Regions from separate parts of the Homo sapiens genome. Here regions 1, 3, 4, 5 and 6 are each linked to region 2. Evidence: promoter capture Hi-C in 16 types of primary human blood cells and fetal thymus (Javierre and others, 2016). All regions are on one chromosome and are shown on one strand. The core of a region is centred on a gene start or on the middle of the fragment in contact, and the rest is flanking DNA. Distances in the headings are between cores, read along the strand shown.

Region 1 (4,245 bases), core at 429-2,928, 860 kb before region 2:
TCCTGAAATGTCTCCATCGAATAAGGAATGAGAAGTGGGAAATAATTGTGGAGTCCCCACTACTACCAATGTAAGATACATTAAATACCACCGATAACTTCCCTAACTAGTGTCTAGCAGTATTGTTTCATTTTATAGTATAGATAATTTAATAAGAGCTACTAACATTTATTCACAGTTCTAACCCCTAAGGCTGCCGTAACAAATCACCTCAAACTGTGTGGCTTAAAGTAATGGTAATGTATCCTCTCACTGTTCTTGAGGCCAGAAGTCTTGATCCAGGTGTTTGCTGGTCTGTTCCTTCCAGAGGCCCTGAGGGATCCTCTGTGCTGGGCCTCTCTCTCGGCTCCTGATGCTGCAGCAATGCTGGGCATTCCTTGGCTTGCAAAGCATCCCCTGATGGCTGCCTGTGTTCACATGGTGTTCTCTGTGTGTGTGTGTGTGTGTGTGTGTGTGTGTGTGTGTGCGCGCGTCCAAGCTTTCTTCTCTTGTAAGGACACTAGTCATGTAGGATTTAGAGGCCACCCTACTCCAGTATGGCCTCATCTTAACTTGATTACGTCTACAAAGACCCTGTTTCCAAATAAGGCCACATTCACAGATTCCAAGTAGACATAAATTTGAGGTTGGACAGCGGCGGGGAGAGGCATTGCTTTTCAACCCTTTACACCCCCTACATGATTTTTCTCCATGACCTTAAGATGAAGTATGAATTCTCCTCCTACATAGATGTCCAGGGGCATAATTTTTGCTGTTATAAAGGGAACCCAGATGTATGTAATGAGTCTTGGGATGGAGCGAGAATGTGAGTTAGGAGAAAAGAGGCTCTTGTCCCTTCTCTGATATGCGTAGCTCTTGTCATAACTTAGGAGGGAAGAGAACTAGGGGAGGACACTTAGAGGACAGCTACTGCTAACGTTGGCCAAGGTCTTATAGTACAGTGAAGTAACTAGCTTATAAACCCTGAGGCAGCAATGTCCACAAAATGGGGAATTCCAGCTGCTTATAACCAGAGAGAAAAGGCTGTCCCATGTTTTAGGGCTAATGAACGCTTGCCAATGGCCTATTTCCAGGCAGCCCGGAGCACCTGACTGGCAGGAGAGTAGAGCACCTGTGGAGATCCATGCACAGACACACAGCCATGGAAGCTGTGGAAATCTTTCCACTTTGCTCTGTGATGCACATTTTATGTCTGTCATGCATTCTGTCTGTGAGTTTCTCTTTTTTTCCGGGGTGCCTACAGCAGGACCTCACCCCAGACAATGGCAGGATGGCCTGGAGATGGGAAGGGAGGAAAGGCCATCCTATTCCATGAGCAGCATTCCCAGTGGTGCCGCACAAGCCAGGCCATAGCAACAACTGGAAACCTTCTCCTGGAGACCTGGGGAAGGGTCCAGCTCACACAAAGCCTAACTACTACCATCACCCGACCTCAGATCTCTGTGCCACCATGATCTAGTACACCAGAATCTGCAGGGCCAGGTGAAGTTGGCGCAGCTTTTGGTTAACAGCGATGCAAATGGGACTTCAGATTCAGATGACTGTTGAATCCAATAAAGAGAAAATTGGGAAGTCTCCATTTATTGCTTACATTTTTATTCCGTAAAAAGTCAACTCAGATGACTCAGTCCAAAGGAAACCTATTATCGTGTGTGCTTGGAAATGCCCAAATTCACTCTATAATTTTTAAATTCACTCTATATTTTAACATTTGGTTCATGACTAAAGGAGCTTCAGGTTTTGAAGGCAATTACCTTCACAGCATATCAGCTATAGCTAATGATAAATATCCATTCTCAGCTCAATTCAGGGCAGGGTATATTTTCAGAAAATGGCTCTTTTAAAAGTATAACTGAAAAGCAGTGGTCAGGTTAGGCCTACTTAGTGTTTAATTAGGACATGGTTGCCTCCTTAGAAACCCTAAAAAAGAGGACCTTTGAGGCACAGGTTGCTTCTGTAAGCATTGCACATGGATCAGAACCGAATTATTTTCTGTTTCAAAAACAGCTTTTGCCAAGGGAAGGTGCTGCCTGGAGCCACGCTGAGACTGACACGCCCTATCGACTCTTTTGTTCTGACTTTCCAACACACTCATCTCTTCGCCTTGGGTTTGCTCAGCTGGCCACGAGCACGTGCTGAGTGCAGGCTAAAGTTCAGGAGAGGATTCACAGAAACATCAGAGAGGTAAACATGAGAAAGAAACGAGGAAATTCAAATTGCGCTGAATATGCCACCCATCTGTCATTAATTTTGAGTGGAGTTGCAGCTCACCCACAGGGTAGCTTCTCATATCAGAACATAAGAGGGAAATAGGGCATCACCTTGAACCATCCTCAGAATGCCCCACGTGGACATGCCCTTCGTCATTTCCTTCATTGGTAGAAGTGTTGGCTGCTTCTATGGTTGAACACCAAATGAAGGTGTTGCCTGGGTTTAGAGGCCATTTCTCTTTAAGCCCTAGGCTCACACTCAGCGCATGGGATGTTTATGCCATAAGTGCGTGGATGTTTATGCCACTTGTGGCTGATGAGCGGCACGGCACCTGCAGAGCCCCCAGCCCTGCTTCACTCCAGGACACACAGTGAAGCATGAGAGTGTGTAATCAACCACAGCATTTAACATTTTTTTTATTTTTGCAGAACACGTAAGGTTGAATTCATAGAAGTGAAATGTAATTTTGATATAACTCCACTCAATTTCAAACCGACATGCACATCTCAGGGGTGATACATAAAACATGTATGATAATTTTCCATATTTATGTAGTTAGTATGTAATTAATAGCTAAGTAGTTAAAGCAGTTACATGTGCTGGGCCTGTGCATTTCATGGAAAATGAATGAACAGACTCATTTATGGTAATTGGTTGAATAAGCTTCGGAGTGGCAGAAACACATCTAAAATTAAGACTAATGAACATAAATAAATCATTTGTTTTATGATGGCTCAATCTATAGGCTATAAATGATAAACTTTGAAAGATATGTTTTATATCTTTATACATGTTTTATAAAAGATTATATTACTGCAAGTTGGAGACAAGCAAGAACCAAATAAGTGCTATCAGCCTGAAATGCTGGAACTAATCAAGCATTGAAGACAGGGAGGTGAATAGATTTCTTGCTGTTCCTGGATACTGAGCTATAAAGTGAACTCTAACACAATTTCTAATGGACTATTTTCATACACCAAACAAATAATAAATTGTGATCCATGGAGCAAGTCCAGCAAAAGCTTCTAGCAAATAACAATTAAAAGAATAGAAGGCTTATTGATTACTATGGAGTTATTTATTTTAAAATATTGCCATCTTAAAGCAACATATTACTAAATTATGGATGATTTTTAACAAATTCCTCATTTAAAAAGATGGAAAGCTCTGGGAAGCCTCATGATCTTTATAGAATTCTCTGTCCCCCAAAGGCATGGGAGAGCTAAACTCTGGAGTAGACATTTCCTTAACCAGTCTTAGCAATTCTTGCTTCCTCTCCCCCAAGAAACTCTCCCCTTTCTCTGATGGAGGAGAACAATACAAATTTCCTTAGAATCGACAGGCTATGCCTTAGAAGCCACAATAGCTTGTGAGATCCAGCTGACCTATATTGGGTAGAAAAACCCACAACTGAAATGAAACAAAATTCTTCCTTGAATCTACAATATTGGAGCTTTACTCTGGAAAGAGATAAAATGACCAAAACTTTCCCGATGTGCCTCCTTCACCTGGGCTTCCCATCCTGAGGAAGTAGCTGGAGTGAGCTGGGCCTGGCAGGTCTCAGCACAGCCACCCCAGGAAGAGCGTGTCCTCCTGCATCTTCGCCCGGCTCAGCCAGGTGAGGAGCCAGTCCACATCTGAGGCCGTATCATTTACCCAAAAAAGAAGAAATGCAGTGCATTTCCCCAAGAATGGGCTGTTTGGGAGCAAATCCAATTTGTCATAGAAATAGCCTGCATGGATCAGTGCAGGATGGTCAGCTTGTCAGAGATGCAACCAGCTACTCATGATCCATCCTGAAGTCAATTATAACCCCTAGAATCTAGCAGAGTAGATCACCACAGCCCCATTTTGCACACACACATGCACACGTACACACACGTCCACATGCAGGCACAGACATGCACACACACACGTCCACAGGCATGCACAGACATGCACACATGCACGCACATGCACGCACACATGCATGGATGCACAGACTCCCAAGCACATTCCCCGCTCTGCTTCCTGCCCAGGTACAGGTGTGGCTCT
Region 2 (4,561 bases), core at 1,672-4,171:
CATATAGGTCTCATTCAAACTGAATGGTAATTTATTAATAAACAAACAATGAATATGTTCAACAAAAAGAAAGAAAAGAGGATAGAATAAGATTAATACAGTTTCCCTTTTTATAATGAGAAAAAAAGCACAATTTAAAGTTTCAGGCAATTTAACGTCAGGTTTTGGGAACACTTTCTGGCGTTTGGTCCACGACATCCAACTACAAATTAAAAATAAATTACTATGTTGCAATTTACATTTTAAAACAAGTCCATGAATAAAAAGAAAGCGACTTTCATAAACGGGGACTTTCCCCCTCCCTTCAACATAGGATAAAATAATATCTTACAGGTGAGAGGCAAGGAAGAAGGCAAGAGAGGGGAGACGGGAGGAGGGGAAAGCAGGTCTCTGAAAAGCAAGAAGAAACTTACGTGTTATCTGGAGTAACACTGTCCTTTAATAAACCAAGATTTTGCTGTCTCTGTATAAAACAGTTTACGGGTTTGTTTATTTAGACAAGGCAAAGTGGAGGTGGCTCTGAATTAATCGGTTAAGAAAATAGAGTTTTCTTCGTGCTGGTGCTGGTGAGCTGAATTTTTGGAGGGATATTCTGTTCGCTGGTGTGGTGAATATTCTCAGGGGTTTTTTTTAATTGGATTTTTTTTTTTTAGTTTCGATTTTGCCTTGATGGGTTCCTTTAGCTTTTCCTGCTTTGGGGTTCGATTTAGTTCGGCTTTGAGGGTGTGTCAAAACTTGCTACAGTCGTAGACGAAAGCTCCGGACGTGCGGTACAGAGACTGGCTGGAAGGGAAGGCCATTTGACAGCTACTATTCCCGTTCACTGGAGAGTTGTTCAAGCCGATCCTCTGTGACTCGAACATCTCCCGCACCGAGTGGAAGTTCTGCTGCTGGCCCGGGTAGCCTGCGGCCGCCGCCGCCGCCGCCGCGCTCGCCAAGTGGCCCAGGTCTCCGCCCGCCTGGTTCAGGTACCACGAGGTGAGGCGGCCTTGGTGGGCCGCAGGGTGGTGGCCGGCCTCCTGGCCTCCCCCGCCGCCGCCGCCGCCGCCGCCGTGACTCAGGGACGACGAGCTGCTGCTGGTGACCGGAGGCAGAGAGTAGTCGGGCAGGGGGTCGTCCACGGCCGAGCCGCCCGCGCCCCCGGGCGCGCCCTGCAAGTGGCCCCCGCGCTCGCCGGCCGCGTACAGGCTCATGGCTTGCAGGTTGCAGTGGTAGGTCCCGGCGCCGCCCGCGCCCCCCGCGGCCCCCGCGCCGCCGCCGCCGCCGCCCGAGCTGCCCGCGCTGGAGGTCTGGCTGCAGGGGGAGCTGTAGAGGGAGCTCTGGCCGGGCGAGTAGGCGCCGAGCGCCAGCGGGGGTGCGATCCCCGCGCGCGAGGACGCGGCCGCCGAGGCCAGAAGGCCGGAGCTGAGCTCCGCGGCCGCGCTCTGCGGCGACCCCCGCAGCGACGTCATGATGTTGTCCACGCTGAAGCCCTGGCTATGGTGCGGCGGCGGGGCGGAGGGCGCGGGCGGCGGCGGCGCGGAATCCGCACCGTCCAGGCTGAGCGGCCGCGCCGACGGCAGGCTGCCCGGGGGGCTGCTCCCGCTGGACAGGCTGCTGCTGCTGCTGTCGGGGCTCTCGATCTTGGGCACCGCGGCGGCGCTGCCGCTGCCCAGGGCGGCGGCCGGGGACAGGGGCTGGGGCGGCGAGGGGCACGTACCGTTCTCGGTCTTGATGTCCTGGATGCGCACGGGCGGCGGCTGCGGACCGGGCGCGTTGCCGTCGGCCTGCTCCGGCGGCGCGGGCGGGGGCTGGCGGCCGGGCGGGGGCGGCTCCTTGAGGTGCAGCCTGTCCTTCTCCTCCTTGTCCTTCACCGCGTCCTTCTTCTTGAAGCGCCGCCGCCGCCGCAGGAAGCTGCCGTTCTCGAACATGTTGTAGGAGTCCGGGTCCAGCGTCCAGTAGCTGCCCTTGCCCGGCTTCTTGTCGTCGCGCGGCACCTTGACGAAGCACTCGTTGAGCGAGAGGTTGTGGCGGATGCTGTTCTGCCAGCCCTGCTTGTTGTCCCGGTAGAAGGGGAAGCGGTCCATGATGAACTGGTAGATGCCGTTCAGGGTGATCTTCTTGTCCGGGGCGTTCTGGATGGCCATGGTGATGAGCGCGATGTAGCTATAGGGCGGCTTCACCATGTCCTTGGGCTGCGGCTGCGGCGTGTAGGGCCCGTAGGCGCGGGCCATGCCGCCCGGGTACTGCTCGGCGTGCGCAGGGTGCGAGTACACGCTCATGGGGGCCGGCATGGCGGTGTAGCCGCCCCCGGCCGCCGCGGCCGCCGCGCGGTAGTAGCTCTGCTCGCCGCCGAGGTAGGGCACCACTCCCAGGGAGTTGGGGCTGGACACGGAGTAGCGCGCCTGCATGGCCCCCGCTCGCCGCCGCCCCGCGCCGCCCGCCGCCCCCCACCCTCGCTCGGGCCGGGCCGCGCCGCGCCGGCCGCCGAGTCCGAGTCCGGGCCCGGCCGAGCTGGTGCCGGCCCGCTGCGCTGTGCGTCCGGCTGCGCTGCCGCCTCTCCCGGCGCTCGCTGGGGCTGGCTCCTCCGGCGCCTCGGGCTACCTCGGGGCCCGCGCGGCCGCGAGGCGGGGTCGCTGCGAGGGGAGAAGGCCGGGCCCGGCCGCGGCAGACCGCCTTGCAGGAACTCGCGGCGCAGCTTCCAGGCGCAAACGGGGGAAAGCAGACAAAAAGAAAGAACAAGCAGGCGCCCTTCTCGCCACACTGCCTGCGCCTTCCAGGAGACTCTGCCCTGAGCTGCCGGCGAAGGCGGCCAAATAACCAGGGCGGGGGGGGGGGGGGCCGCGCGCCGGCCGCCTGCCCGGGCCCCGCGTCACCTTTTCTCGGTCTCTCGCGCGCCAGCCGCTTAAGGAAGCATTGGGAAAACTTCTGAACTTTTGAGCATCCGTCACCCAGGCGAGGACTTTTTTACGCAGTTACACTTTTTTCCGGGCAGCGGAGCCCCGCCCCGCCAGCGGCGGCAGCCAATGGGAGGTGAGAACCGCCTCCGAATGAGCCGGAGGCCGAGCCCTGCCGGCCCGCTCCCGGAGGCCGGAGGACCGCGGGGCTGACCACACGCGCGCCGGCCGCCCTGGCCCGGGCCCCGGCCCTGCGCCCGCGCCGGCGCCCGGCCCGCCGTCGGTTCGCCCCCCGCAGTCCACCTGCCTGCCGCCGGCGCCCGGCAGACCTCCCACCCCGGGCCCTCCGGACCCACGCCCGCCGTTCGCGCAGACTTCCTGGGTCCTCCCGGGACCCCGTGCAGACCCTTCCTTCGCCCACGGCTCCCGAGTGGCCCTGGCGTCTCCGCCCCGCCTCGTGCTGGCTCGCTCTCATTCCTTCGCCAGCCCCGCCGACGCCAGCGCTGGGGTTGCCCCAGCCTCTCCTCCCCGCCGCCTCTCCCCTCCCGCAGCCCCTTCCCTCCCTTCTCCAACGCCAGTCTCACTCGGGTCACTGACGTCTCCGGCTTTTCTCCACTTGGAGGTTCTCCTGTCCTGAACTCGGCTACAAAGGACATGATTTTGAGGGCTCGGTCACAGCCAGGCCCTGCTCGCGGTGGGGAAGAAGGTTCGTCGCCCATCTGGCCCCCCTCCATGACCCCTCCCCAGCCGAAATGAAGGCAAGGGGTGCGGGGCCCTGCTGGGAGTTTCCGACGGCCGTTCACCCGCGAAGGATGAGCCCGCCCCGCTGCGGGCCGCCCTGCTTCTCGCCCCCCTCCCCGGGGGGCCGGCCCTTGGCGGCCTGAGGGTGCGGGCGGCGAGGGCTGCCGGAGCCCGGCTGCTGCCCCGCGCTCCCCTGCCCGCCCGCGAGGGTCCCACCGGCTCGCCGCGCCGCCGCCCCCTCTGATCCCGTCAGGCCCGTTTCGGCTCAGATGAGGGGTCAGGCTGCGGGCTCGGTGACATTAGCAGGTGTGATGACAAGAAGCAAATAAATATGTCTAAGAGCTTAACGCTTCCCCAGGCCAGTCTCCATCTCCACATGCGCGGGGCTGCCGGCTCGCAGAGACAACGGGTGTGTCTGGGGGAACGTCCAGGGTCGCACCTAGAGGGCGGTTCAAGGATTCTGGGGGGACACGCACGGAAGGGCCCCCGCTCGTTGTGCACACGCCTGAGATTCGCCGTCGCTGGGTGGTTGGAATGGGACAGGAAGAAGAGAAATGAGGGAAAGAAACGAAGGAGCGGGAAAGAGCCAGGCCTCCCTCCCCCGGCACGGCGATTCTGCATTTTAGCGACTTGAGGAGAGACCCTCCCGGAGGCTGAATCCCAAGTCGTTCACTAGAAGCTGGGGGAAGTGGCGAGCTCAGGAGACTGCGAAGAAGCGTGCGTGACGCATTTAACAGCTCCGCTGCCCCTGATTTCCGACCATCTATTAAATCCAAGGACATGTTCGGGACCCCTTTTGTCTCCCCGGTTCGAATCCCGGCTTCCTCACGTTGGCAGGAAAATTCAAATTGCAGCTTCGGCTGTTACATGTGAAGGACGCTGACGTGTAGCAGGCGCATCTCCGTGTCACCTGAATATTTAAAAATTACTGTTTCATAATGGAC
Region 3 (4,419 bases), core at 1,572-4,071, 610 kb before region 2:
AGTCACTCTTCCCTTGTGAATCCCAAAGCCTTGTCTCCAGTCCAGATTTGTTTCCTGAGTTCCAGACCCTGAGTTCCAAATGCCTCAACATTTCCATGTAGGTATTTCATAGACATCTCCTACTCCACATGTCCCTCCCTTCTATCATCTCTGTGTTTTTCCCCACCCTATTTCAAAGCAGGACCACAATCCATTTGGGAGCCAAAGTCAGAAATCTTGGAGTCATCCTATCGTCCTCCTTTCCCCTCACTCCTCATGTCTTCACCAGCAGGTCCTGCTGATTTTACCCCACTAGCATAGCTTTGGTAGCGGTGTCATCTCTTGTCCTTTCCTTGCCCACATCAGTTACCTTGTCCTGCCTGGGCTGTTATAGTAACCTCCTACCTGGTCTTCTGCTTCCAGTCTTTTTTTTTTCCATTCATTTGCTGCCAGTGAGTTTTAGCTGGAGTGACCATCTGATCATGTCAGATGGTCGCTCCTCAGCTTAAACTATTGGTGGCTCTCTCTTGCCCTGGGGGGAGTGTAAACTCTCCAGTGTCCCAGTGCCTTTGTGACTAGCACTTTCCTGCCTTTGCACCACATGCCCCCTGGCTTGTGTGTGTTTTGTAACCCAGCCATTTTGTACGGATAGTTTCTTGAATTCACCATATCCACATTAGTCATGGTTCTCTGGAGAAACAGAACCAGTGGGATGGATGGATATGGATATATATATATGTGTGTATATATATATAGAGAGAGAGAGAGCGCGCTATTGATTGATTGATTGATTGATTGATTGATTTGAAGGAATTGGTTCATGTCATTGTGGGGGCTGGCAAGTCTGAGATTTGCAGGGCTGGCTGGCAAGCTAGAGACACAGGAAAGAGTTGATGTTGCAGCTCCAGTCCAACATCTAGGCCGCTTGGAGGCAGAATTAGTTGTTCCTCCTGGGTAATGTCTTTGAGTGGATGAAGCCCACTCACATTGTAGGGAGTATTACTCAGTGTACTGATTTAAATGTTAATCACATCTAAAAAATAGCCTTCAGAGCAACATCTAGGCAGGTGTTTGACCAAGTCTGGTTGGCATATCCTAGTTAGCACACAAAATTAACTGCCTCACTGTCTTTCTCAATGTTGCTCGTGTTTGTATCTGTCCAGATTTCCCCCACACCTACTGTGGTGCCTACTGACCGCCTGGAAACCTGCCACTCATCCTGTGCTCCACTCTCAGCCTGCCCTGACCTTCTCAAGCAGCACAGCATTTCTTAGTACAGCATTTCCTTTTTTTGTTCCTAATTGGCTGGTAATTGCGTCTATTACAGTATTCCCCCTTTGCTGTGAGTATTCTTAAATTGCCTAACAGAATCAGTATGCCTCAAGGACCAAGCTTCTATTGTTTACATTCACCAGTGCTTAAGCACCTGATGAGTACCCAATAATTGTGTAATGAGGCACCGAATGAATGGAGACATTTGGGCCAAAGGGTCGGAGATAAGCAGTGAGAATGGAAGCAGTTGAGGGAGAAAGCAGAGGTTTTGGAGCCATTTGGAATTGGAGGAATCCCATTCACTGCACCAGGGTGTGGTCTCTAACCCCAGGAGAGCATTTTAGACGCCTAGGGAAAGCAGCTCTGCAGTCAGATTGACAGGATCGGAGTAAACCTCTGAGAAGCTCCAAAACTCAATCCCAGATCATACTTCTTACAGTGAGTGCTGGTCTAATGATTTCCATAGAATTTGCATCGTAATTTGGTGACAGTGTGTAAAAGCTGTCATTATCAGACTTCAGCATACTAGTCGCTTCCAGCTAATCACCTCCATGCAGGGGAGCCTAGACTGAAACATTGTTGCTTTTCATTATTTTGGAGAATAATTTAGGTAGAATTACTGTTTAATTTTTGTATTTCCTATTTAAGAAAACCTGTTTCTTTACGGCCCTTTGACTTTCATTTTCTCTTTTTCTTCCCACTGACCTGGCGGCTTCTTAAAGGGGCAGCACCAAGTTTCCTGTTGCCCCTGTGGGCAGTGGCCACAGATTGTCTTCTTTTTCTTCTTTTATACCCCATGGCACATTCTGAGAGTATTTTCTTTTTTCGTTGTTGTTTGTTTTCTTTTTGCTTGGGACTGCTATAATGTGAATATGATATTCTCATTAATTCATTTACTCATGTTGCAAAATTCACTAAAATCCCTTTGTTAAAAGAACATTTTAAGGCCGGGCATGGTGGCTCACTCCTGTAATCCCAGCACTTTGGGAGGCCGAGGCAGTCGGATCACGAGGTCAGGATATGGAGACCATCCTAGCTAACACGGTGAAACCCCGTCTCTACTAAAAATACAAAAAATTAGCCGGTCGTGGTGGCGGGTGCCTGTAGTCCCAGCTACTCTGGAGGCTGAGGCAGGAGAATGGTGTGAACCCGGGAGGCCGGGAGGCGGAGCTTGCAGTGAGCCGAGATTGCGCCACCGCACTCTAGCCTGGGTGACAGAGCAAGACTCCGTCTCAAAAAAAAAAAGAACATTTTAGATGACACTACTTTAAGTAATGTAATATTGTGTTTAAGGGAGCTTGATTAAAATAATAAAATGCAATTGAAGTCAAAACAGATGGATAAATCATGATATTACAAGTGAGAACTGGAATTCTACGTGAAGCCAGGAATAAAGCTGAGAGGTAATCTTTGAGCCACAATTTTGTGTTTTTTTGTTTATTTGTTTGAGATTGGGTGTTGCTTCTTGCTCTGTTGCCTAGGCTGGAGTACAGTGGCTCCTGTAACCTCAAACTCTTAGATTCAAGCAATCCTCCCACCTCAGTCTCCTGAGGAGTACATTACTTGTGGTAATGTACTACAGGTGTACATTACCATGCCTGGCTAATTAAAAAATTTCTGTATAGACGGGGTCTTGCTGTATTCCCCACGCTGGTTGTGAACTCCTAATCTCAAGTGATCTTCCCACGTTGGCCTCCCCAAATGCTTGGATTCCAGGTGTGAACCACTGTGCCTGAGCTTGTACATCCCTTCTTAGAAGGCCACAGCTTTATTACCATTATCAAACAGGGACATACAAGTACAGGTTGAGTATCCCTTATCTGAAGTGCTTGGGAGCACAAGTGTTTCAGATTTTTTTTTTTTCCGATTTTGAAATATTTTCATATACGTAGAGAAATGTATATACAAATCTTGGGGGTGGGACCCAAGTTTAAACATGAAATTTGTTTATCTTCATATATACCTTAAACACATAGCCCGAAGGTAATTTTATACAACACATTAAGTAATTTTATGTGTGTAGCAAAGTTTGTGTACATTGAACTGTCAGAAAGTGAAGGTGACTCTATCTGAGCCACCCATGTGGACAGTCTGTAGTTGTCTGGCATCCCCATCCTTCTTGAGGCTGAATTTATATGCTACGTATAAGCAATTATTGTCTCACATCTATTCACATTAAAGCACTTAACAGTAAAAAATATGACATGCCATTATTACAGCGAGAAAATAAGTGTCAGGGTAACCAAGCAGCACAGAGCATCACCAGACATCTGTACCAGCTGCTAAACCACAGCAACAGCACACAGCAGCAGGCTTTCCGTCTCCATCTGTGAGGCCTTGTGTTGACTAAAAGGTTACCGTACCTGTATCTTGTGTTTGGTGGGTGAAAAGAAACATCAGAAGTATTGAAGGACCGGGAAATTGAGTCCTCTAGGGATAAGGAGGCGTTCTGCTGGATGGCTTTTAAAGATGTTTCCTCCGGAGTCATCTGCCTCATTAGCCATGATTTTTGTCTTACAAGTCTTTGATTTTATACACTGACAGGATTTCATGTTTTATTGTGAATGCACACTGCCCTAGCCCTTGAATAAGCCCTTCACACATTTTCAACATGTTGTCTCTGGGCACTTTTTCTGCAGTGTTGACATCATCTTCATTGTCACCATTATAGGTTGAATATCCCTTATCTGAAATGCTTGGGACCAGAGGGGTGGAATTTTCCACTTCTGGTGCCATGTTGACACTAAAAAAGTTTTGGATTTGGGGACATTTTGGATTTTCAGATTAGGGATGCTTAACCTGTAGTTGTATAATTTATGACATTTGAAGAAAACGGAAGTGACCCGGCTGCTCAGGAGCAATATTCATGATACTGAAATCAGAGGGAATTTTTTTTTAAAGTTTCTGGTTTAAGTTGGTGCCCAGGAGGTGTGGTCTTTTAACTGGTGTGGTCGGTGCTCTGTTTGTTACTGGTCTGTGACAAGGTAAGTACAGAAAATGAGAGTAAATTTAGAAGCTTTTATAGCAAGTTCCTGAGACATTTACATCTAATCATTTTTTTTTAGTAACTCACCTTCAGTTGTATTTTACAAAAGAACCAGTTCATGATGGATTAGAAATTTAAAATGAGGATGCTGACAATAACTAGTTCTTTACTGCAGACAGTTT
Region 4 (4,326 bases), core at 1,256-3,755, 560 kb before region 2:
TGAGAGGTAGTATCTCATTTTTTCTCCTCAATCTGAGAGACTTTGTCTTTAATATTGGGGAGGTCAATTCATTTATGATGATCATCATAAAAGATAAGTTCAGTTCTACTTGTGCCTTCTTATTTTTTGTTTTAAATGTATTCTTGCTTTTCGTGGGGGTTGGGAGGTCTGCTTTTTGTTACACATGCTGTCTTTGATGTCTTCCGTAGTGTTTGGAAGGTATCTTTTTTTAATTCTACAGTCTGGGAAAGCCTCTCAGATTAGCCGGCCACGTGAGTTGTTTCTCTGCCATTTATTGCGTCAGTTTAGCCCCTCACTGCTCTCTGTATGCATTTAAGTTCTGTTGACATTTTAGTTTCCTTCCTTATTTTGTTCATCTCCTTACATTATCCTATTATCTTTTTACCTTAACTTCTTTCTTTCATTGTGGCTCTTTGCACCTTTTTCATGGAAGTCTTTGTGCATTTTAATGTGGATATTGAAGACTTTCCTGATGCTTTCTTCTGGCTTCTGTGGTAAATAGTTTCACACTATGTATTTCTGAGTCCTTAGGATGATGATCTCATTTTTTGTTCCCTGTGCTATCCACCCACCTGCAGCAAGCACAATTTTGTTAGTTTTATTTTCTCTTTATTAAATCCTAATATATTTACTGACTGCTTCCTAGAGATACATAGGTAAATTAGACAGACTTTATTCTGTGTTTGTTTTCTGGATTTTAATTTTTCTCCACTCAGTTAATTGCATCTAATCATCAACACATCTGCCATTTATTTATTTATTTTTGCCATTTGCTTGTCTGTTCGGGTAGTTGATCTTGGACTTCCTAGGCTCCAAATCTGTGAGAAAGAAGAGAACTAGGCACCTAGTTTATGGTATTTTGTTATAGCAGACCGAATGGGCCAAGAAAATGTTAAACAAATTACTTACATTCTGTCTCTGTCCTGTCTTCCTTTTTTGTTGTTATTCTTTTAATCTTTTGAATATGTGTACAGACTCATCACTCCATTTTATTAAGCTCCTCAGACCACTGAAAGTTGTGTGACAATGCCATAAGCTTTACTCTTAAGATTAAGAAGCACAGACTCCTGAATTCAAGTTCATGAGTTCCTGAATTCATTTACCAATGTGTATTTGCAATTTTTGGTACTATGATTTGGATTGACAGATATTTAAAGGTAGTAATTTTTTTCAGTCTGATACATACTTGTTTTTAGAGTATTTTTTTTTTCTTTTGGAGACGGAGTCTCACTCTTTTGCCCAGGCTGGAGTGCAGTGGTGCAATCTCGGCTCACCACAAGCTCTGCCTCCTGGGTTCATGCCATTCTCCTGCCTCAGCCTCCCGAGTAGCTGGGACTACAGGCGCCCGCCACTGCACCTGGCTAATTTTTTGTATTTTTAGTAGAGATGGGGTTTCACCGTGTTAGTCAGGATGGTCTCGATCTCCTGACCTCGTGATCCACCCGCCTCGGCCTCCCAAAGTGCTGGGATTACAGGCGTGAACCACCGCGCCTGGCCTGTTTTTAGAGTTTTAACTTCTAAAAAAGGTAACCAAATGGGTTAGTCTGTAATGTAATTATGCCTTTTTTTTTTTTATTTTTTTTTAAGGCAGGGTCACACTCTGTCACCCAGGCTGGAATGCAGTGGTGCAGTCATAGCCCACTGCAACCTTGAACTCCTGGGCTCAAGTGATCCTCCCACGTCAGCCTCCTGAGTAGCTAGGACTATAGGTGTGCACCACTATGCCCATCTAATTTTTATTTTTTTCTGTAGAGGTAGGGTCTTGCTGTGTTGCTCAGGCTGGTCTCGAACTCCTGGCCTCAAGATATCCTCCTGTCTTGGCCTTCCAAAATGTTTAGATTATAGGTATGAGCTAGTACACCTGGCCTAATTGTGCTTCTATTTAGTTTAGAACATATGGTAACAAGGATAATGGATTTAAACCAATCTGTAAGTAATAACATTCTCTTAAAATTGCATGGAGAAAGTCGAATCCTGTTTTCTTTCTTTCTCTCTTTTTTTTTTTTTGAGATGTAGTTTCGTTGTTGTTGCCCAGGCTGGAGTGCAATGGCACGATCTTGGCTCACCACAACCTCCACCTCCCGGGTTCAAGCGATTCTCCTGCCTCAGGCTCCCGAGTAGCTGGGATTACAGGCATCTGCCACCACGCCTGGCTGATTTTGTATTTTTAATAGAGATGGGGTTTCTTTATGTTGGTCAGGCTGGTCGTGAACTCCCGACCTCAGGTGATCGGCCCACCTTGGCCTCCCAAAGTGCTGGGATTACAGGCGTGAGCCACCGCGCCCAGCCAGTCCTCTTTTCTAATATACCACCAGATAGCACCTTCTGAATCAGCCCAGCACCCTTAAAGCAGTAATTGATAGTCAGGGCTTGCCAGCTGAACACGTAACTGAGTTCTCTCTGGATCTGTGTTTTGAATCAGTATTTGAGGATGGTGTTCTGCTGTAGGAGTTGTGTAAGTTAAAAGTCTCAGATCCTGGCAAATATTTTATGAAATCAAAGGGAAAAATAAGTTATTCTTCTGATGGCCTCTGTTTTCCCAGAAAACTTAAAATTATATTGCCTTTTTTTTTGTTTTTTTTTTTTTTTGCTGCCTGGTGGCTTTAAACTATTCTTGCTCTGTTGCCCAGGCTGGAGTGCAGTGATGTGATCTCAGCTCACTGCAACCTCTGCATCCTTGGTTCAATCGATTCTCCAGCTCCAGCCTCCTGAGTAGCTGGGATTACAGGTGCTTGCCACCACACCCAGCTAATTTTTGTGTTCTGAGTAGAGACGAGGGTCTTACCATGTTGGCCAAGCTGGTCTCGAACTCCTGGCCTCAGGTGTTCCTCCCACCTTGGCCTCCCAAAGTGCTGGGATTACAGGCGTGAGCCACCATACTGTTATATGTAGTGTTGTTGAAGGAACTCTTTCTTATGAAGATTTTTCAACTGGTTTTAATATCAAATGGACTTTTAAGTATTTTTGTAATAACGATATTAATAACTTCTGTTTCATTATTAGGTTTTTCAAAGTGCCTTCCAGTTCTTAATTTGTCCCTGACTCATGTTGGGTGAATTTAACACCTTCTGATGTTTAAGGTTATCCTAGATACTAAGAATGTGGGAGAATTTTAGTTTTTTTTCCCTCTGGAAAGATGACTGTGGAGTCTAAAATAAAGTCTACAAATTCTCTCTGAATCCTAGTATCTTTATTCAAGTGTTCTTTCTACCTATGACTTTAAACTTTCAGTATTTACATGATACGGTCTTGGTTATATAATCATATCTTGTCAGTGTAATATATCCAGATAGAATTTTAAATACCAGTGGAGTTTTTTGTTCTTTGTTGGCTGTAAGGACTTAGAAATACATCAAAATTGAGAGCAGACTTTTTTATTCTAAATATTCAGAAGTGGAGTTCCTTTTAATAATTTTGACCTTGCTTACAATACTTGTATTAAATTTATGTTTAGAAACAGAGTCCTTATTTGGCATCTACTTTGCCCCATTTTAAGAGTTTCTTTTAAAAGAAGCAGTTGATGTGTTCTGACTGGTATTTGAAGAATTTAACTGATTCATTTAACTTCAGAAAGTACAGCAAAGAAAAGAAAAAGCATAGTAGAAATCTAAATTTGTGGTTTATGAAATGGAAGCATAGTTAGGGTCTTTTCTACAGTGTATCCTCTCTCAATGTATAAATACACTGTCTTAGTTATTTAATATTGATTTGTGGTGATGTAGGCTAAAGGCTGCCATCTGACATTCATATCATGTAAGATTTTCTTGCCTCACATTCTGAGGCCCACATTTTGTTTGTAGGGAAGTGACCTTTTGCTTTGCTCCTTGTTTCTTCTACTCATGGATCTCAGGCCTTAAAGTGGTGCGCATGAAGCTGTCCGGTATCAAGGTAGTTTTGGTTTTGGATGCTGTTGTTGGTAAAGAACAAGCTTCACGCTCACCCTTCCCTGCAGTTTGCAGACCCTCAGAGAGCTAAGGAGGGAAATGGAAAGAATTGGAGCATGACTGTTGCTAACACATCTTTCCTTCTGAGGAAGGAAGGGAAAGAGCAGGCAAATGTAGAAACAATAAAGATGGAAGGGGCACCCTTAGAGAAGTTTGTACCTCCTCAGTGTAGGGGCATGAAATGACACCCACAAAGAAGAGCCATGGTATTGTCTTGCTTTCTGCCTCAGTATTGGCTAACTTTCACTTTAAAGGAATTTTTAAAATTGGTAGGACATAATAAATGCTTCAATGAAGGCACCTTAGTCATCCAGCCATTTGTTCGCTTATTTAAGCAGTACTTATTGACTGCCTGCTGTGT
Region 5 (4,563 bases), core at 1,349-3,848, 1.0 Mb before region 2:
ACACCACAGCAGCTCGACATTAGATTTATGGAGTTACCCTACCTGCTTTTCCCCAAAACTTAATGAAACTTTTCATAGGTCTTTCCAACACACAAGAAGCTGTTAAGAATTCATGGTCTATTTCGCCTCTCAGAGAGCCTAACAATACATATTCCCTTTTACATTGAATGTTGAGTGTTTTACTTTTCTCCACATTCATCCTCTCTCCAAAACTAAACCCTCTGCCCCTCCTGTGGCTGGAAGTGTCTGCTCTATGGGTGACCTCTCAGCTACAGCCTCAGTCTCCTATGGCCTCCTCCTCTTCCTGCGTTTTATGGATAGTCTGTCTGTTCTATTTTTTTAAATGCTGCATAGGAAAATCTACATCTGACCCCATCCTTCCAATGATTGCCTAGTTCCTTTTAACAAAACTTTTATAAGAGCGTCTATTCCATGCCATCTCAAGAAATCTGTCTTTGATTCACCTCATCCTTCAGCACACCAGACAGGTGTTGGTGTTTTGGCTTATATTTATTCTACGCCTATTTTCTCTCTAGTCTTGTGTGAGTCTGGGTGTCCCTCTAGCCTGCCCAGATGACTACTATCATTCCAAAGGAATAATATTGCCCCTGCTGTTGCCCCAGATTTTCTAGTGCCATGCTACATATACAGTAAATCAGTCAGACATTAGGTTGATAATTCCCATGGGCAGGCAGGCAGGCAGTCTCTTCCATTCACTGCTGTACCCCTAGCACAGTAAAGGGCACATGGTACACCCTTGACAAACCAATAAACGACTAGAGACATGGGTACTCCATGAGCACATACAAAGAGACTACTAGGTCACAGAGCTGTGTGATGAGCTCTGGGTTCTAAGCCAATTTTTACTGGATGCCAAAACAATCATTCCGTTTAATCAAAAACTCAGCTAAGTAAATAAAGTAGCTTTGGATGATAACTCAAAGTATAAAATAAATAACCACGAACTCATACGGATATCAACAAATGATTGAAAAAATAAATGAATTGAAGAAAAGAGACAAATGTTCTGTGCAGAAAATTTCAAATAATTTCTGTAGATACTCTGCCCTCAAGGATGGGGAGTATTAACTCCCCACCCCATAAATGTGGGCTGCAGATAATGACTTCCTTCCAAAGAGCACAGTATGGAAAGTGGGGACATAGAGGAACTTTTCCTCTAGGTGAATGTATTTGTCGAATAAATTTTTGGAAAAAGAAGTTTGGGTCAAAGGGCATTTGCATTTATAATTTTAGTAGGTATTGCCAAATTCCCATAGAAATTGAAACCAATATATGTTCCCATCAGCTTTTTTTTTTTTTTTTTTTTTTTGAGATGGAGTTTCATTCTGTTGCCAGGCTGGAGTGCAGTGGCATGATCTCGGCTCACTGCAACCTCCACCTCCCGGGTTCAAGCGATTCTCCTGTCTCAGCTTCCCAAGTAGCTGGGACTACAGGTGTGCACCACCACGCTCAGCTAATTTTTGTATTTTTAGTAGAGGTGGGATTTCACCATGTTAGATAGGATAGTCTCGATCTCTTGACCTCATCATGAGCCCGCCTTGGCCTCCCAAAGTGCTGGGCCCTTCAGCTTTTAATAAATGTCTTTCCTCTACTCCATTGCCACCAGCATATTAACCTGTTAGGTTTGTTTTTTTTTTTTAAACAACCTGGGAGTTGGAAAATGAAATCTCAGTATAGTTTAATTTGCATTTTAATTATCATGAGTGAGGCTGAGTATCTTCTCACCTATCTAAACTTCTGTGATCTTGTCTGGAAAGTGTCATTTTCCCAATAGTTGGTCTTTTTTCAATTGACTGTGGGAGCTATTTAGGTATCAGGTATTCTTTGACGTTGTATGAATTAACAAGTACTTTCCCCATTTGTTGCCTTACAAAGGCCACTATAACATGGAATTTAGATGTATTGCCAACTGACTGTGTTGGATCCATTTAAACACTTTGTTTTTATAATTAAAAGCCGTTGGTAACACATACTGTTTCATCTCCTGAAATGACTTGAAGAACCATATATTGAGATATAAATATAAATGTTATTTTGATTCTTTTGGTAGCAAATAAGTAGGATTCACCCCCCCACCCTGCTCTATTTTGTAGAAGTTTTATTAAATGCCTATAATCCTATTCATTAATTATAAAAATAGAATAACAGATAAATTTAAATATTTGCTCTACATAAACCTATTTTGAATACTCTGGCAAGATCTAAAGCTTGTTTACTAAAAAGCCTTGGTAAAACCAACAAATTATACATACCTCATGAATATAGTTTTCAAGAGTTTTTTGCTCCACAAAAAAAGATCTGCTATTAGGATTTAATAAAATTTTACTGAAAAATATATACTGCCCTTTCTGGGATTAAGCAAGCACCTGGCTGCTGGCTGACACTTCAGGGGACATCAGCATCAGCTCTGTTCTCCGATGTTGTGTGTGGCTGGGCCTCCACCCCAGAGCTTTGCAGATACACAGTTCAACAGCGATGTTCCCAGTAGCTCGACACCAGAAAGGGACAGTGATGGGGCCTGTTCCGTCACATCACGGCATCTCACCTGCCCTCCTGCTCTCTACCTGCATCGAGGAGTCTCAGAGAATCCCACATGACATGAACCTTGAAGCCTCAGGGGTAGGCCCTCCAGCCCCTGAGCAGAGGCCGCAGAGTTAACGTTTTGAAAGTGGTTTTCTGTTGCTAAAAAATGTGTGGTTTATCACAGCCCTAAAAAATGTCCAATGATTGGGATTATCCCCCTTCTCCTTTCCTGTGTGCCTTCAATTAGCTGAATGAAAGCAAACCCGTGGCTTTAGAACCTGAAATAGCTGGAGAAAAGTGATGCAGATTTCAGGCGAGATGAAAGAGTGGAACCCAGAAGCCTAATTAAAAGCAACTGAGAAACCAGTATTTGATACGGCGTTCACTCACCTGAAAAAATAAACCAAGAGCTCCAGCAAGCTTTGCTGGAGGGTTGTCGGAGAGGGGCTGAGACGTTGCACTCAGGTCACAGGAAGGCCCGACTCGCAGGACACAGAGCCTCACTATTTCTTTCCTCTTGGAGTCAGGGGAAGGTCAGCCAGCCCGCCGAGGCCACCAGCCCGGCCTGCTTGACAATAGCCAGTTAGCCAGCAAAACTTTCCTCCAAGGTGGCAAGGGTGACAGCTATCCATCCCCAAACGCATTGCTTTTTTAAAAATCTTGAAATGTGCATGATTTGTTCAACATCACTTTCCCCCTGATTTTCCCTGCTTCTTTTTCTTCTCACACTTCTCTTCCTCCTGCTTTTACTACTCCCCATGTCATCTTTCTTAAATGCAGGGCATTTCTGTACATTCAGCTTATGGTTTGTTTTTGATGGCAGAAACTATCAAGGACTCACTGAAAGAATTAGTCCTCCTTTACCAAGAGGAAAATTCTCTTGGTTTTGAGATAAATCAAGGCCCAAGGTCAGTCAAGGGAGGAAATAAATAAATGAGCCTCTCTTTCATACATTGCATATTTTTAAACCTACAAATCAGCCCCCCGAATGGAATGCTGGCATATAAAAGCAGCATTTGGGATCCCGCTAAATGCAACTGCCATCACGTCCAAGATTTTAGTTGGAGGCAAGAAAAAGGACTTAATTTTAATTGCTGGGGGAGACGTCCTTCATTCTTTTCCTTTCCAAGTTTGATATTCATGACCTTGGGTAGGATGGGAGGTGGGGAATGTGGAAAGATGGATATGGGGTCGCGGTGGTTTTATTACTGTAAGTAACTGAAACAACAGCCCCGTTTTTGGAACAGTCTGTTCAGGAAGCAGAGACTAGATGCTTCCCCCTCAGTGGGGTCACAGTTGGCTTTTCTTGACTTCACGCGTTGTCGGATGGGATCCACAGTGAACTGAGGTTATCAACACCGAATAGCAGCTACCATTTCACATTGCAGGATGCACTTCAGAAACCACACACCAGCGCGAGGATCTCACATGGACATTACTGTTGTTATCTCTTAAATGCTTTGGGAACACCAAGGACCTCTCACTTTGTTGGGTATTGTAGAGAGGTTTTATAGGAAGTGATGAAAATATGGCCTTTGTCTGTAAGGAGTCAACCATCTTAAAGTAACATGTTTATATAAACACAAACATTCACCGTTGTTCCCAGAGTTCACTTAGGTTGGTCATCTTCCTTCCTTCCCTTCCTTCCTTCCCTTCCCTTCCCTTCCCTCCTTCCCTCCCTCCCTCCCTTCCTTCATTCCTTCCCTCCTTCCTTCCTTCCTCCTTCCCTCTTTCCTACTGTTTCTCTGCCTCTCTGTGTATTTTCTTCTTTTCTTTTCTTTCTTTCTTTCTTTCTTTCTTTCTTTCTTTCTTTCTTTCTTTCTTTCTTTCTTCCTTTCTTTCTTTCTTCTTTCTTCCTTTCTTCTCTCTTCTCTTTGTGTCTCTCTCTTTCTCTTTGCCTCTCCTTCCCTCCCTCCTTCCTTCCTTCCTTCTTTCTTTCTTCTTCTCTTTCTTTCTTTCTTTTCTCCTCCATTCTGCTTCTATCTTTCCTGACCTGGTTTCCCATCATGAAACTTCTCT
Region 6 (4,417 bases), core at 161-2,660, 630 kb before region 2:
GAGAAGTGCTTGGGAATGCAGTTAGGGGTATGTAGGATGAATGAGAATAGTAAAAGTATGAGGATAATGAGATCAAGGATGCAAATGCATTTTGGTGACAGGTTGGATGGTAATAGTATGGCCAGAAATGCAACCACTGGGAAGGAAAATCAGTTTTCTGGGGGAAGACAGTGAATTATTTTGTTCCTCTGGAGTTTGAAGTGCAGTGGTGCAATCATAGCTCGCTGCAGCTTTGAACTCCTGGGCTCAGGTGATCCTCCTGCTTCAGCCTCCCTGGTAGCTGCCACCAAGCCTGACTGATTTTTTTACTATTTTTTTTTTTTTTTTGTAGAGACAGGATCTCACCAGCTGACCAGGCTAGTCTTGAACTCCTGGCCTCAAGCAATCCTCTGGTCTTGGCCTCCCAAGTGCTGATAATACAGGTGTGAGCCACTGCACCTGGCCTCTTTGTCTTAAAAATGACTTAAAAGTGCTCAGAGGTGGCTGCTGTAGAGTGGGCAAGTCCTAAAGGTGGCCATGCTGCTGTGCTGTACCTTTAGCCAGTCTTCTTCCCTGTCTCCCAGAACTTTCTGTAGCTCTTACTTAGAAGGCATGAAAATTAACACTTTCCCTTTAGTTTCATGATTGATGTTAACCAGGCTATTCTTAGTATATTTCAGTTTTCTCCTTTCTTTCTCCTTTATTTATTTGTTGATTATTTGCATTTCCTAATGTTAAAGATACTTCCAGGCGGGGCGAGGTGGCTCATGCCTGTAATCCCAACACTTTGGGAGGCCAAGGTGGGTAGATCACCTGAGGCCAGGAGTTCAAGACTACCCTGGCCAACGTGGAGAAACCCCATCTCTACTAAAAATACAAAAATTAGCCTGGCATGGTGGTGGGCGCCTGGAATCTCAAGTACTCGGGAGGCTGAGGCAGGAGAATCGCTTGAACCCGGGAGGCAGAGCTTGCAGTGAGCCGAGATCATACCACTGTACTCCAGCCTGGGTGACAGAGCGAGACTTTGTCTCAAAAAAAAAAAAAAAAAAAAAGGTACTTCCAAACTTCCAATTTACAATTTCTCATGCTTTTCTTCCTTTCTTGAGGAATTTTGGGAATCTCACACTTCCAGAAGTAAGGTGCTCAGTTGCATTAACCATTCCTGTATAAGCTTAATACATAGGAAATGAGTGAGTAAAACATGTCTGAAAGGTAATCCTATAGGATAGAAAGCTGATTATCAGTAATGTTCTTGGCAGTGGGGCACCAATGTGCCAAACCTAGTCTTTGGCAAGCTAGTAAGCAATTTTCCTGCCAAAATCTTGTGACTTACCATAAGTAGTAACCCAATTGTTTATATAAATTTACTCATTGAAATGACTCAGCTTTCCAGGATATTATTTTGGCATTTACTTATGTAGAATTGAGTTACATAGACTTGAGGTTAGATGATTTTATATGCAGTGACGTTCTTGGCTGAAGGGTATTTACTTCATTTGTTTCAGACTGTTCATACTGTGCCTTTTAAACAATTTACCACATGTGATTCTAGGGGAATCCTTTCTCAGATCTTCATACTAAGTTCTTTTAAACTTAAGAGTGAAAAAATAAAGGTATTTACTAGGGATTTATAGAAAGTATTTCTTTATACTGACTAATTACACTTGGGAAAATGAACCACCAAAGCTTGGTTGTATTATATATATATTATGCTTGAGCATTTGGTTTGATTGTAATGTGAAATGAATTGCTTGATCATGTTTAACAAAAATATGTTCCTTAATGCTGAGTGAAAAAGCCTCTAATTGGCACTTTTAGAAATCTTTTAAAATCAAAACATGATTTTTCTATGTTTCTTAGAATGGTACTGTATTTCTATCACTTTTCACAAAAGTTAGATTTTTAGTATTGCTTTATTCGAACTATATTTTTACATCGGTTCTTTAAAAATGATGAATTGGAATTTTGCAAGTATATGCAGACACTAGTAGTATTTTTTGGTGATCAATATTGATAAACGTGTTTATTGTAGTTTACAGTGGAATCCTTCAAAATGGAAGCTTTGTTGCAAGAGACCTGCAGGACAAAATGCAAGTGTGGCATATATGCTTGTTGGAGTAAACCCAGTCAAGGAGAAAGACAGCAGAAACCCTGTTTGTCAAGAATTGTGGGAGGCCTGAGATTTTACCTTACTTGCAGGCTAACAAGTTAGCTTCTTAAAATTCCACGGATGATGGCAGAAGACACAGCACTCCTGGGTCAGCAGGCAGTATGAACTTCATGTTTGTGACAGCTCTGTTTGTATAGTATTTTCTTGCCCCTCAAAGACCATGTGGGTAACACGGTGGCTGGGTGGGTCTAGGTGGATGTTGCCCATGCAGTGGGTATGCACCACAGTTGAGAAAATCTGAGATTGGGAAACCCCAATTTTTTATAAGGGAACTAATAATCCTGCCCAGCCTTTGCTTTGAGGGAGACATTATTTTTATTATTCTGCATAGCAAACAAATCTTCCATCTGCTCCAGAGAGAAACACTATTGCTATCTTAAAATGCTATCTACAGATGTCCTGTACAGGAAAGATAGTAGCCAATAAAAGCTGTCAGTGCAATCTGCTCATAAGACATGCAGAAACTGGAGAGACCCATAGAGAACTGGCTCCCAACACCATTTGTTTGCCTTGTTCCTGAAACTTACCAGATTGGCAACACAGACCAGTTTTCCTCTTTTTTTTTTTTTCTTATTTTTTTTATTTTTTTTTATTTTCCAGAAAGGGTCTTGCTCAGGCTGGAGTGCAGCAGTGCAAACACAGATCACTGGAGCCTCAACCTCCTGGGCTCAAGCGATCCTTTGGCCTCAGCCTCCCGAGAAGCTGGGATCACAGATGTGCACCACTATGCCTGGCTAATTTTTGTATTTTTTTTTTTTGTTAAGATGGGGTCTTGCCGTGCTGCTCAGGCTGGTTTCAAACTCCTTGGCTCAAGCAATTCTACCATCTCAACCTCTCCAAGTGCTGGTATTGCAGGTGTCAGCCACTGTGCCTGGCCCCAGTTTTCCTCTTATGTCTCCATGCAGACTATGGGGAGCTCCAGCTTTGCATTTGTTTTCTTTTTGCTTGAAGAACAAAATGATAAGACCTGGATTTGGGTGCTTAGTATGGAATGAATTAGGCATTGTCCCTGGGGGAGGCATTTTATATTTCCCTGTATGTATAGGCATGGGAAGTATAGTAGGTTTGATTTTGTTGGAATGTTTAGTAAGTTTAATCTGATAGATTAGTCTCAGTTGGCCTGAAGAAGTCTAGCTCAGAAGGACATTTTTCCAGCCCTGAAGAAGAATATGCCTGCTTCCCCATCACCCCTAAGGGGATGATTCTAACTCTGTTGGCTGTGGCACCTTTGTGTACACGTATCATCACTTGTTTTTTTGTTTTTTTGTTTTTTTTGAGATGGAGTTTTGCTCTTGTTGCCCAGGCTGGAGTGCAATGGCATAATCTTGGTTCACAGCAACCTCCACCTCCCAGGTTCAAGCGATTCTCCTGCCTCAGCCTCCAGAGTACCTGGGATTACAGGCATGTGCCACCACGCCCGGCTAATTTTCTATTTTTAGTAGAGACGGGGTTTCTCCATGTTGGTCAGGCTGGTCTCGAACTCCAGACCTCAGGTGATCCGCCCACCTTGGCCTCCCAGAGTGCTGGGATTACAGGTCCTCACTTGTTTTTAATTTACTCACTGAGTGACCGTAAACTTCTTGCATTAATTTCAATGCTTTCTCTTTTTTTGCTTTAAAATTGTACCTGATGTAAACTCTCATACCTTCATTTAGAGATTACTCCTATCATTTTTGAGAATGTTTCTCTGGTGTCTACCATATGCTAATAGGGCCTGCCCTCGAGGTCAGAAAATTTATGTCTTTTCAAATCTTGTAAGTTTGCTAGGATTTTATTTTTTTTATTTTTTTTGATACGGAGTTTCGCTCTTATTGCCCAGGCTGGAGTGCAGTGGTGCGATTTTGGCTCACTGCAACCTCCGCCTCCTGGGTTCAAGTGATTCTCCTGCTTCAGCCTCCTGAGTAGCTGGGATTACAGGCACCCGCTACCATGCCCAGCTAATTTTTTGTATTTTTAGTAGAGATGGGGTTTCACCACGTTGACCAGGCTGGTCTCGAACTCCCGGCCTCAGGTGATCTGCCTGCCTCGGCCTCCCAGTAGGATCTTGTTTTGATTTTCATGAATTTTGATGTTATCATTGAAATATCTAGAAATCTGCATATTTTATTTAAGAGAGTCTGCTTTTTGTACACAAGGAATGCTTGTTCTTGGTGAAGCCTCAGGTATGATGGATAGGAAGGAATAAGAAAGCTGTTTGAGAGGAGAATAAAAGGACTTAGCTACTGATTGGATTGTTGGATTGGGAAAGTCAGGAGAAGTAAGGGTTTT

Evidence for each region. Contacts are between HindIII fragments. The CHiCAGO score rates a contact against its expected background, and 5 or more counts as called.
Region 1: a fragment that was not itself captured here is called in contact with the fragment with the promoter of FOXC1 in region 2 in 2 of 17 cell types (neutrophils and erythroblasts); the score reaches 5.4 in neutrophils.
Region 3: a contact is called between a fragment that was not itself captured here and the fragment with the promoter of FOXC1 in region 2, in 2 of 17 cell types (total B cells and naive CD8 T cells). The highest score is 9.9, in total B cells.
Region 4: a contact is called between a fragment that was not itself captured here and the fragment with the promoter of FOXC1 in region 2, in 2 of 17 cell types (M1 macrophages and naive CD8 T cells). The highest score is 5.4, in M1 macrophages.
Region 5: a contact is called between a fragment that was not itself captured here and the fragment with the promoter of FOXC1 in region 2, in 1 of 17 cell types (total CD8 T cells). The highest score is 6.8, in total CD8 T cells.
Region 6: a contact is called between a fragment that was not itself captured here and the fragment with the promoter of FOXC1 in region 2, in 3 of 17 cell types (total B cells, monocytes and fetal thymus). The highest score is 5.9, in total B cells.

Annotation. Positions count from the first base shown.
Region 1 is chr6:2,469,543-2,473,787 of GRCh38, reverse strand. No RefSeq gene overlaps it. Among named protein-coding and RNA genes, the nearest start is that of LINC02521, 160 kb to the left of the region's middle. The HindIII fragment of the contact is 2,396 bases long and covers 481-2,876 here.
Region 2 is chr6:1,608,275-1,612,835 of GRCh38, reverse strand. FOXC1 (forkhead box C1) reads right to left here and starts at 2,921. Exons shown (of 1, transcript NM_001453.3): 1 at 1-2,921. The coding sequence starts at 2,390. The coding sequence ends at 729. RefSeq lists an enhancer at 2,064-2,163 and a silencer at 2,494-3,113. The HindIII fragment of the contact is 8,300 bases long and covers 1-4,561 here.
Region 3 is chr6:2,219,465-2,223,883 of GRCh38, reverse strand. The region is part of intron 1 of GMDS (GDP-mannose 4,6-dehydratase); the gene reads left to right. Among named protein-coding and RNA genes, the nearest start is that of GMDS, 24 kb to the left of the region's middle. RefSeq lists enhancers at 1,089-1,706, 1,873-1,942. The HindIII fragment of the contact is 2,896 bases long and covers 1,374-4,269 here.
Region 4 is chr6:2,167,906-2,172,231 of GRCh38, reverse strand. The region is part of intron 1 of GMDS (GDP-mannose 4,6-dehydratase); the gene reads left to right. Among named protein-coding and RNA genes, the nearest start is that of GMDS, 76 kb to the left of the region's middle. The HindIII fragment of the contact is 2,892 bases long and covers 1,060-3,951 here.
Region 5 is chr6:2,604,972-2,609,534 of GRCh38, reverse strand. No RefSeq gene overlaps it. Among named protein-coding and RNA genes, the nearest start is that of LINC02521, 27 kb to the left of the region's middle. The HindIII fragment of the contact is 736 bases long and covers 2,231-2,966 here.
Region 6 is chr6:2,234,133-2,238,549 of GRCh38, reverse strand. All of the region lies in intron 1 of GMDS (GDP-mannose 4,6-dehydratase), which reads left to right. LOC107986512 (a long non-coding RNA gene) reads right to left here. Exons shown (of 2, transcript XR_007059405.1): 2 at 4,239-4,417. Among named protein-coding and RNA genes, the nearest start is that of GMDS, 9.3 kb to the left of the region's middle. The HindIII fragment of the contact is 515 bases long and covers 1,153-1,667 here.